2 separate regions of the Homo sapiens genome follow, and region 2 is linked to region 1. The links are contacts of gene promoters, found by promoter capture Hi-C in blood cells and fetal thymus (Javierre and others, 2016). All regions are on one chromosome and are shown on one strand. Each heading gives the region's core, a stretch centred on a gene start or on the middle of the fragment in contact. The rest is flanking DNA. Distances are from core to core; before and after follow the strand shown.

The links. Contacts are between HindIII fragments. The CHiCAGO score rates a contact against its expected background, and 5 or more counts as called.
Region 2: a contact is called between a fragment that was not itself captured here and the fragment with the promoter of UBE2V2 in region 1, in 2 of 17 cell types (total CD8 T cells and non-activated CD4 T cells). The highest score is 7.0, in total CD8 T cells.

What each region holds. Positions count from the first base shown.
Region 1 is chr8:48,003,830-48,009,884 of GRCh38, forward strand. It overlaps UBE2V2 (ubiquitin conjugating enzyme E2 V2), which reads left to right and starts at 4,602. Exons shown (of 4, transcript NM_003350.3): 1 at 4,602-4,641. The coding sequence starts at 4,626. RefSeq lists silencers at 4,308-4,567, 4,798-4,997. The HindIII fragment of the contact is 2,629 bases long and covers 2,751-5,379 here.
Region 2 is chr8:48,508,761-48,514,716 of GRCh38, forward strand. No RefSeq gene overlaps it. Among named protein-coding and RNA genes, the nearest start is that of LINC02947, 6.3 kb to the right of the region's middle. RefSeq lists a silencer at 5,755-5,956. The HindIII fragment of the contact is 2,256 bases long and covers 3,490-5,745 here.

The sequences.
Region 1 (6,055 bases), core at 3,352-5,851:
GAGAGATGTGGTATCTCAGGTGGAGAAACAACCAGGGCAGTGGCAATAGTGCACCTGAGAGGCGGCTTGGCTGAGTGTGGGCATCCACTGGAGAGAGATGGGAAATCATTCAGGAGGTATCAGTGGAGGCTGGGTTCTGGTAGGTTGTGAAAATCAGGCCGTGGTGTTTGGGCTTGGCATCCTTGGCCAGGGTGGTAAATGGACCATTTTCTGCTATAACTACCTATGGTAGTTACACCAACATGGGATGACAAGACTTTTTTTCTGCTGAACTTGGATATGGTCTTAGAAATGGCTCTTCAGATAATCATTACTGGCAATCAATATGAAACTTACTACCAATCTGGTGGTAGGCAAAAGGAAGCAAATGCAGGTTTTCTCAATCAGTAAGGACATAATAAATGTGGTGTTTAAGAAATATTGATATTTAGGATAGGTCAGCTAGAGGCTGTTGCTAAGTATATAATGCTGAGGTCACTAGAACTCAGCAGACAAACTTGGGGAAAGTTTAATAATTTGATGATAATATTAGAGTTTTTCTCTGCACTGGTAAGAAATTTCAGTTAGGTTATTGTGTCAGGTCCCTTTGTGAGAAAAACAGTCTCATTTTGGCTTGTCAAGTTACAGTGGCTTGAGAGTAGATAAGGATAGTATATTATGATTCTTCTTTATTTCCTCTTCTGTTTTTTTTTTTTGTTTTGTTTTTTTGTTTTTTTTTTGAGGCAGAGTCTCGCTCTTGTCATCCAGGCTGGAGTGCAGTGGTGTGATCTCAGCTCACTGCAACCTCCGCCTCTTGGGTTCAAGCAATTCTCTGCCTCAGCCTCCCAAGTAGCTGGGATTACAGGTGGCCGCCACCATACCTGGCTAATTTTTCTATTTTTAGTAGAGGGAGGGTTTCACCATTTTGGCCAGGCTGGTATTGAATTCCCGACCTTGTGATCCACCTGCCTTGGCCTCCTGAAGTGTTGGGATTACAGGCGTGAGCCACCGCACCTGGCCCCCTGCATTTTTTTTTTTAAGACAGTGTCTCATTCTGTTGCCCAGGCTGTATTACAGTGGTGCCATCATAACTCACTGAAGCCTTAACCTCCTGGCTCAAGTGATCCTCCCATCTCATCCTCCTGAGTAGTTGAGGCTACAGGCACGAACCAGAATGCCAGCTTTTTTTTTTTTCTCTTAACTACTTTTTCTCCTTTTTTTTTTTTTTTAATTTAAATTCTGGGGAACAGGGGCAGAACATGCAGGTTTGTTACAGAGGTATACACGTGCCATGGTGGTTTGCTACACCCATCAACCTGTCATCTACATTACGTATTTCTCCTAATGCTATCCCTCCCCTAGCCCCCAACCCCTGACAGGCCCCAGTGTGTGATGTTCCCCTCCCTGTGTCCATGTGTTCTCACTGTTCAACTCCCACTTATAAGTGAGAACATGAGGTGTTTGGTTTTCTGTTCTTGTGATAGTTTGCTGAGAATGACGGTTTCCAGCATCATCCATGTTCCTGCAAAGGACATGAACTCATCCTAATTTATGGCTGCATAGTATTCCATGGTGTATATTTGCCACATTTTCTTTATGCAGTCTATCACTGATGGCCATTTGGGTTGGTTCCAAGTCTTTGCTATTGTGAACAGTGCCACAATAAATATACATGTGCATGTGTCTTTATAGTAGAATGATTTATAATGCTTTGGGTATATACCCAGTAATGGGATTGCTGGGTCAAATGGTATTTCTAGTTCTAGATCCTTGAGGAATCGCCACACTGTCTTCCACAATGGTTGAACTAATTTATACTCCCACCAACAGTGTAAAAGCATTCCTATTTCTCCACATCCTCTCCAGCATCTGTTGTTTCCTGACTTTTTAATGATCACCATTCTACCTGGTGTGAGATGGTAGCTCATTGTGGTTTTGATTTGCATTTCCCTAATGACCAGTGATGATGAGCTTTTTTTCATGTTTGTTGGCTGCATAAATGTCTTCATTTGAGAAGTGTCTGTTCATATCCTTTGCCCACTTTTTGATGGACTTATTTTTTTCTTGTAAATCTGTTTAAGTTCTTTGTAGATTCTATATATTGGCCCTTTGTCAGATGGATAGATTGCAAAAATTTTCTCCCATTCTATAGGTTGCCTGTTCACTCTCATGGTAGTTTCTTTTGCTGTGCAGAAGCTCTTTAGTTTAATCAGATTCCATTTGTCAATTTTGGCTTTTGTTGCCATTGCTTTTGGTGTTTTAGTCATGAAGTCTTTGCCCATGCCTACATCCTGAATGGTATTGCCTAGGTTTTCTTCTAGGGTTTTTATGGTTTTAGGTCTTACGTTTAAGTCTTTAATCCATCTTGAGTTAATTTTTGTATAAGGTGTAAGGAAGGGATCCAGTTCCAGCTTTCTGCATATGGCTACCCAGTTTTCCCAACACCATTTATTAAATAAGGAATCCTTTCCCCATTGCTTGTTTTTGTCAGGTTTGTCAAAGATCAGATGGTTGTAGATATGTGGAGTTATTTCTGAGGCCTCTGTTCTGTTCCATTGATCTATATATCTGTTTTGGTACCAGTACTAGGCAATTTTTTTTACTGTAGCCTCGCAGTATAGTTTGAAGTCAGGTAGGTAGTGTGATGCCTCCAGCTTTGTTCCTTTTGCTTACGATTGCCTTGGCTACGTGGGCTCAATACCCCTGATGAACATTGATGCGAAAATACTCAATAAAATACTGGCAAACCGAATCCAGCAGCACATCAAAAAAGCTTATCCACCAAGATCAAGTCGGCTTCATCCCTGGGATGCAAGGCTGCTTCAACATATGCAAATCAATAAATGTAATCCATCACATAAACAGAACCAATGACAAAAACCACATGATTATCTCAATAGATGCAGAAAAGGCTTCGACAAAATTCAACAGCCCTTCATGCTAAAAACTCTCAATAAACTAGGCATTGATGGAATGTATCTCAAAATAATAAGAGCTATTTACGACAAACCCACAGCCAATATCATACTGAATGGGCGAAAACTGGAATGAAGGATTCTTTTTATTTTTTATTTTTTTTTATTTTGAGATGGAGTCTCGCTCTGTCCCCTAGGCTGGGGTGGAGTGCAGTGTCGCCATCTCGGTTCACTGCAAGCTCCAACTCCCGGGTTCACGCCATTCTCCTGCCTCAGCCTCCCGAGTAGCTGGGACTACAGGGGCCTGCCACCATGCCTGGCTAATTTTTTGTATTTTTTTTTTTTTAGTAGAGACAGGGTTTCACTGTGTTAGCCAAGATGGTCTTGATCTTCTGACCTCGTGATCCGCCCGCCTCCGCCTCCCAAAGTGCTGGGATCCATGCCCGGCCAAAAGCATTCCCTTTGAAAGCCGGCACAAGACAAAGATGCCCTCTCTCACCACTCCTATTCAACATAGTATTGGAAGTTCTGGCCAGGGCAATCAGGCAAGAGAAAGAAATAAAGGGTATTCAATTAGGAAAAGAGGAAGTCAAATTGTCTCTGTTTGCAGATGACATGATTGTATATTTAGAAAACCCCATAGTCTCAGCCCCAAATCTTCTTAAGCTGACAAGCAACTTCAGCAAAGTCTCAGGATACAAAATCAATGTGCAAAAATCACAAGCATTCCTATACACTAATAACAGACAAACAGAGAGCCAAATCATGAGTGAACTCCCATTCACAATTGCTACAAAGAGAATAAAAATACCTAGGAATACAACCTACAAGGGATGTGAAAAATCTTTTTTTTTTTTTTTTTTCAGTTTTATGTAGAGACTAGGTATCACTATGTTGTCCAAGCTGGTCTCAAAGTCTTGGGTTCAAGCCATCCTCCTGCCTCAGCCTCCCAAAGTGTTAGGATTACAGAAGTGAGCTTCGGCGCCCAGCCTGTATTACTTTCCTTTTTCTTTCTTTCTTTTTTTTTTTTGAAATGGAGTCTCCCTCTGTTGCCCAGGCTGGAGTGCAGCGATTTCTGCTCACTGCAGCCTCACCTCTTGGGCTCACGTGACCCTCCCACCTCAGCATCCCTAGCTGTTCAAATTTATTGTCCAACTCTTTTGAATCGTTTATCAACGCAAATCTGTCAATGCCCACTTATTTTTATTTATTTTTTTGAGGCGGAGTCTCGCTCTGTTGTCCAGGCTGGAGTGCAGTGGCGCAATCGCGGCTCATTGCCCCTCCGCCTCCCCGGTTCAAACGATTCTCGTGCCTCAGCCTCCCAAATAGCTGGGATTACAGGCGCGCGCCACCACGTCCGGCTAATTTTTGTATTTTTAGTAGAGACGGGGTTTCGCCATGTTGGCCAGGCTGGTTTCGAACTCCTGACCTCGGGTGATCCGATCGCCTCGGCCTCCCAAAGTGCTGGGATTACAGACGTGAGCCACCGCGCCCGGCCCTCATGAACTTATTCTTTAGCGTTTCATTTTGAGAGCGGGATTCACAAGGGAATTGCGGAAACAGCAGCGAGGCCCCGCGACCCCTCGGCCCACGTGCGCGCTGTCCCTCGGGTCGCCCCGCGCCCGCCGGGGGCGGAGTCCGCTGTGACGCGTGCAGGGCGGCGCGCTCCCGGAAGTGACGCGCGACGGTTCGTGCGTGCGTGCGGGCGGCTGCGTCGGGCTGCAGGAGAAGATGGCGGTCTCCACAGGTCGGTTCCCGGGCCGGGCTGCGTGATTTTCCGCTCCGACCCGGCTCTGCCCCTCCGTCTGCTGCTGGCGCCCGAGCGCTGACCGTGCGGGAGAAGCCCGAGTGCGCTGTCTCGAATGCCGCGCTCTCCGCAGAGCGTAGCCTGGGACCGGGTGGGACCGGCGCCGAGGCCCCGGCGGCCGTCGGGTTGGCGGGTCGTGCTCGCGCGTCGGCCGCGCGCCGGCGGGCTGGGGGCGGGGTGGCTCCCGCGCGGGCGCCCCCGTAGGTTCCGGCGGGCGCGGGTCCGAGTTGTAGGCTGAAGGCTCTACGGGAGGGAGGCGAGGAGGCCCAAGGTGGGCGGGTGTCAACCTCCGGCACCGAAGATGGGTCAGGCCAACCGGCACCGAAGATGGGTCAGGCCAAGAGGTGTCCTGGATCAGAGTAGGGGTCCCATTCCTTTGGACTCTCCTTGACATGGGTTGGGGAGTAGAGGACGATTGCTCCTTAAAATAAGAGCGAGAGGATCTTTCTTACCTGACTGAATACGTGTGATCTTTTTATTATTTATGAGGAAAACTGCAGTGCAAACAAAATAAAAGACCAGAGCAAGATGAAAGCTAATTGAAGAACAAGTGGTTTCTTAGATAAGCTGTTCAACTCCTCTTTCCTACTGAATACAATGTTTGGTTTCCTGTGAGCACACAAGTATTAACGTTGAGGTTTTAGACATTAGACCATTTCAGAAATGTTAAAAACGTTAAGCTTTAGTTTACATTTAAAAATGTTAACCCGTGTGATCTGCCTTTTTCTTTTCTTTTCTTTTTTTTTTTTTTTTTGAGTCAGAGGCTCACCCTGTTGCCCAGTTGGAATGCAGTGGTGTGATCTCGGCTCACTGCAACCTCCACCTCCCAGGTTCAAGTGATTCTCCTGCCTCAGCCTCCCAAGTAGCTGGGATTACAGGCGCGTGCCACCAGGCCCGGCTAATTTTTGTATTTTTAGTAGAGACGGGGTTTTGTCATGTTGGCCAGACTGGTCTCGAACTCCTGACCTCAGGTGATCCGCCCACTTCGGCCTCCCAGAGTGCTGGAATTACAGGTGTGAGCCACCGCGCTCGGCCTGATCTGCCTTTTCCTAGTCTTCGTTGAAACAAGAGTATAGAGCAGTGTGATTTAATAGTTTATGCCATCATTGCATAATAAAATGAATTTTCAAATCTATATGTACTGAAATGGAAGGCTTTGAATATATGTTGTAATTGTTGCTTTAGAGTAATACCTCAGGATACATTCTGCATACATTTTAATTAAGTGGTGTCTTTTACATCTTTATTACATATAGGTGTCATAGGTTTTAAGATCTTTAGCAGTTCTAGTGTTGGGGTAGTATACATACTTGGGTCAGCTAGCTAGTAAGGCAAGGATTGTTTTAAAAGTGGA
Region 2 (5,956 bases), core at 3,368-5,867, 500 kb after region 1:
TTGCCAGTGTCCCTTGGGGGCAAAATTGCCCCTGAGAGCCAGTGGTCTAGGGCCTCCACATCCTCCCTGGGCTCCTGTGAAATGACAGGAGAAGCACAGGTGACAGGAGCAGAGAGAAGGAGTGGAGGATCACACAGGGAGCTTTGCCAGCCAGTGCTAAAAACTGTGTGTCTCATTTAACCCACATTCCATTGGCCAGACATAGTCACACGATGGTACAAAGAAGGCTGAGAGTTGCAGTGAAGCTGTGAAAAAATAGAAAACCCCTAAAAGACACAAGTAATATTTTTACTTAAAATGACAATGATAGACTGTATAATAAATGAATGTTCTGATTCTCTGCAAATAATATCTATCTTCACATATTTCTGAATTTTTCTTCCTGGTCAATTGCAGCTGATTTTTGGTGGAGATATATCTATATATACATTTTTTTTAATTGAAAAATTTTTAAGAAATGAGACAGGGTTTTGCCATGTTGCCCGGGCTGGTCTCAAACTCCTGGACTCAAGCAATCTGCCCACCTTGGCCTCCCAAAGTGCTGGAATTACAGGTGTAAGCCACTGCGCCTGGGCAGGCAAATATCATATATTGTGCGTGTATGTGTGTGCATGTATGTGCACACATGTACATATACAGACGTAAACGCTTTTCCCTACATAATGTCTCCATACAACGCAGTTGATAACTGCAGCAGAGACTGATAGGAGATGTAGCAAAAGAAAGCAAAGCAGTGGGTCCTCCATGGCTGGAACATAAACGGAAGGGATTTTAATCACTGCCTACTCACACATAATTGTTGCGGGAAAGCCTTTGAGACTTGTTGAAGGGGAGATTCTAGAGAGGGGAGCCATAGGCTCACTCTAGGTGACAGGTCCTGTAGTGATGGAGACCTTAATGTCTGCCCGTACTTGGCGAAGGTGGAGCGCTCTATCTACACTGTAAAAATCTGTTAAAAAGTGTGCTGGTAGCAGGAGAGAATTAACCAAATAAATGTGGTATATCTGATCTTATGTATTAAAATAATATATATGGTTTTGGTTTTTTTGAGGGAGACGTGGCTTGTAAAAACAGGTTTAAACATTGAACAACTGACAATGTTTACTGACTATGAATTTCATGCAGGCTATTGTACTATGTGCAGGGGAGGGGTACAAAGGAAATGGAAGTCATGGCCCATGTACTTGAGGAATTTACAGGCTAATAGATTACATACACATGCTAGGGAATAGGCAACATGTTGGCTGACAGCCAGCTGGAGATCTGTTTGCTCGTTCACTCTATCTTCCTATATTTTCTGAGCGGTATCTCACACCAGAATAAGCAGGCCAGTTTCAAAGAGCTCTTCTTCAATTAGATGAGTATTCTTGTGTCTTTTATCATAAATACCAGACCACTTAGAGATTAGGCATGGGTTTACATGGGCAGAAAGAGATGAGTGAAATACTTTTTGAGTAAATTAAATCAGTGTGGATTATCACTCTGGGTGCTATTGATTTTTCACCACTCTCTCTTACTATTCCCAGATCTATAAAGATCCCCCATAAGTCAGGTTTCTGCCAGAAACAGGTAACTTTAATTTCACAGTTTATTTTGCTCACACAACTATTGCTCAAGTCCCTGATGGGGTTTGTGGGCCGGAGGCCACTATCCCAGGCTGCTTCATTGAGGACAGGCCTGGGCTTCTGCTCTCCTGGGGAGCACAGTCTTTTTCTTAAGGGGAGGGATCTTTCCTGGGAGGAGAGGAAAATCTCCATATATGAAGTGGAGTCTTGAAGCCCTACATAACTCAGGGTACTGCCATTCTTCACCTTTGTTAAACAGGGGGAAAACCCACCCAACTCAGCTACTGAAGAATTCCTTCAGACGTCCCCTGTCTGTTTCCTCCCCACTCTTACCCGATGCTGACCCTAGGTAATAACTGATTAGTCAGGAGAGGTATAGGAAGGGTCCTGCAGGGCAAATGCCTCTGCCTCCCATACTGCAGCACCAGAACCATGGGGCCTTCGCAGAGCAGGGTCACTGGGCAGCAAGAGCTTTTAAACATATTTGGTTATTTTTGTTTGAACTCATGTTGGAGGAAAAGACCCAAGTGAAATAACATAATACCTATTCAGGTTAACACTGGCTGAAACTCTTTTTATTTTTAGCATGCGAATTCCTTCATTTCCCAGGTTTCCTGTAATGGCTGAACTTTTAGTGTAAGCTGATCAGTTCTCAAAAAGCTAACTGAAAAATAATCTGAAATAGAGCTCCTTTTCAAATAAACTAACAAGGACTTTTGGGCAAAGGTACTTACTTCATTTCATTTTAGTTAAATAGTGTTCTGTTTTTAAATAGAGGTGGGCTTGTGAAAAAAGCTGATTTACTGATTTCCTGGCCCTCCACAAAGTACCATTACATGCATTATCTCATTAAAATCTCATAGGAAAACCCTTGGAATAAGCACTTCTTAAAAATCTCTATGTATGAAGAAATGAGATCTGAAAGACTATCTTAGTCTATTTTGTCCTGCTGTAACAGGATACTACAGGCTTGGTAATTTATAAAGAACATAACTTTATTTCCTCAGTTCTAGAGGCTGTGAAGTCCAATATCAAGGTGCCAGCCTCTGGTGAGGGCCTTCTTGCTGCATCAAGCCATGGTGGGATGGCAAAGAGAGAATGAGGGAGAGCAAGAGATTGAACTCACAACCTCAGGGTCTTTAATAAATTGGCATTAACCCATTCATGAGGGTGGATGCCTCAAGACCTAAATACCTCCTATTAGGCCTCACCTCCCAACACTGTTGCACTGGAGATTAAGTTGTCAACACATGCTTTTTGGGAGGCACATTCAAACCATAGCAAAGATCTTAGAGCAAACTGCCAAGGTTACAAAGCTGGTACATCTAGGGGCCAGAACCTGAATCTAGGGCCACATACTCTGAGGTTGGTTCTTAATGCTCACAAAGCTAATGCTTTAAGTGGGGCCAATTAATGAGGTGGTAGCATAAGGATAGCTCAGGAATTAGTTGGTCATTTAGTTCTCCCCATCCTCCTTCTCTACTCAAGTTTCAAACCAAAATATATTTGGGGTGTATCTGATGTATATTTTTGTTCCCAAAAATTTCTAGTTGTCTAGCAGATGTATATATATATATTTTTTTTCTTCTTTTTTTTCATCAGGTCATGATATGTTGTTCTTAGTACATGAAGGAATCCTGTGTGTTGTGCAGTTTCTCTTGAGATACTAGCTTTGTATTCTCATCCAGTCAGTCAGGGCCTACAGCCAGGTGATGCAGTAAAACCAAGGATGTGCATAGTGCTCATTTGGAGGTGAGCGCTATGAACTGAATGATGTCCCCTTCAGATTCCTATGCTGAAGCCCTAACTCTCACTGGGATGGTGTTTGAAGGTGAGGCCTTTAGAGAGGTAAGTAGACTTAGATAATGTCCTGAGGCTGGAGCCCTCAGGTGCTATTAGAGCCCTCAGAAGACAGACATTGGAAAGCTTGCTTCCTGTCTGTACTTGCCACCATGTGAGGATGCAACAAAAAGATGACTGCCTGCAAACTAGGAAGAGACCCTTTGCCGGACATCAAATCTGTTGCCATCTTGATCTTCCCAGCCCCCAGAACTGTGAGAAATAAGTGTTTGTTGTTTAAACCACCCAGTCCATAGCAATTTGTTATAGCAGCAGAAACTGACCAAGACAGCCCATAGATGGATTTGGTTCAGCTATTCATTAGCCATGTGACTCAAAGTATTTAATTTACCTGACCTCTGTTTCTTCACCTGTTAAGTGGGGGATAACAACACTTACTAAAAGAGTCATTATAATAAAATAATATAGGGAGGTGTGTTGGAAATGACCAATGTCACTGCAGGCAGTAGTTGTTATTGCAATGTTACTATGAATCAAATCTGACCTCATCCCCAAAGAACCATCATCATGATCTCTAGCTTTGATCTGGACAAATTTCAACCTTGAATCTTGGTAGAATCAAACCAAAGTTGGGAAAGGAACAGGGGTGCAGAAAGAAAACATTTCTACTTGCTTTACCTTCCCACTTTCATGATACAGACTGTAATTACAACTGGGAAGGTTATTAGTAAATATCATTTGGTGATACTTAGTATATTTTGTTATTGCTCCTTAGAGGCCCAACTGTAATACTCTGCAATACATTCTTGTTGGCTCATTGGGATTTCATTTTTTTCCTACTACTTGTATATGGATAAGAACCTAAATCAAAGCATAGAAAAGTCAGATGGGCTGTTTTGAAATCCATGTAGTTAGAAATTCCTTTATTCTCAAAATGAAGACTTTTCTAGATCATTGGTTAATAGAGATAGGGCCTTTGAGTATTTTGAACAGTTTGAAGAAAATCAGCTGTATAAATTTAGTTTCCCCCAACAAAACAGATTTGCTCGGTTTTCCATATAAATCCATTCCCACAAGAGCTAATTTCTTGTTTCTCCACGGTACCAGAAATTGTGCTATAGATAAAATCAAAATGAGATTTTTATCCTTTCAGTTGTTGTTCAGTATACATGTGTTCAAGGGTTTTCTAAAAATAAAGCTCCTTGAATCCATGCACATACTTTTATGTCTGGAGAGTGGAGCCAGTGTTTAGCAGTATTTGGTCTGTAGGAGAGGAGGCAGGTATCACCTTCATGTCACCTTCAAGTGGCTGTAATATGCTTGTGAAAACTCACCTGCCATCAGATGGCAAGTACAAGGCAAAACGCCAGCATCATTGTAGGCCTCTTTGGGGTTCTAAGAAACAATACAGGGTACATTTAAGACAGACGCCTAAAATACTGGTATGTTCTTCTCAGGAAGTTATAAGAATCTGTAAAGTCTCAGTACACTGATTAAAAAATAAAACAACCCACTGTTCTGCTCTATACTTGCAGGCCTCCATGTCTCAGCTCTAAGACTAGGCCTTGTGATGCCTGCCTTCACTCAGGTCGCTCAGGCTTCTGTGACCCCCAGGTCTTTCTTCTCTTGTCAGTGAAGAACCCATCATAGCCCCAGAGCCCTGTGAGGGTAGTCCTGTGTGAATCCAGTGGCCTCCAGCATCTTTGCCTCCTTTGGCCAGGATCTTGGCCATGGCTGACATTTCCAAGCCTGCCATCTCCTGCAGTATATTCAGCACATAAGATGAGCCAGATGCGCACTATACAACACTGTTGCATAACCTGGCCTTTCCTCTGCCTGTGACCCCCGTGTCCCCACCATGAGGTCCTGGAGTTGGTTCAATTAATTGTAGACAGCATACTATAAATTGTATGAGATGCTCATTGGCAGACACTGTGAAGGTTTTCTTTGGGGTTGCTATTTATTTGCGTGAACATGCTGGAGGTATAAAACTGCCTGTGTGTGCACACTGTGTGAGCGAGGCCAGGGCCGCCACTCTCTGGGGCTCCTTCTGGTTCTGGATAGGTCCTTGTTGGGACTCTCAGCAAGCTCATCTGGCCCAGCCCACACAGTTCCAGTAACATGACGAGCAGCCTCCTGGCCAAATTCCTCCTGTGCCACAAGGAACAGTTACCTCCTCTCAGTACCCCACCCCCTCTTGTAAAAGTAGGTCCAGAGGCAGTTGTGTGAGGAGTGCTATAAAGAGCCTGGGTTGTATCCTGCAGGCAGCAACATCGCGGTTCAGGAAGGTATTTTATGCGGAGGATGGCTCCCTCCAGGACCAGGAGAACTGGTGGAGGGAGAGAGACCCCCAGGCAGCTGGCCCCCTGGTGAAGCCCCAAGCTTCCCCCGCCCCCGCAGACACCCGGCGCCCTTCAGTCTCAGGCGGAGCGGACCCGGGTGTCTGACTCGGGCGGGGGCGGGGTGCTGACGTCAGCCCGCGCGCATGAGCTCTGGCCAGCGGCTGGGCGGAGCCAGGTGGGCGGGGCGGCTCCTGCTCCGGGGTGCTAGCCGCTAGGCGGCTAGTGATGGATAGCTGGGCTTGAGCCCCG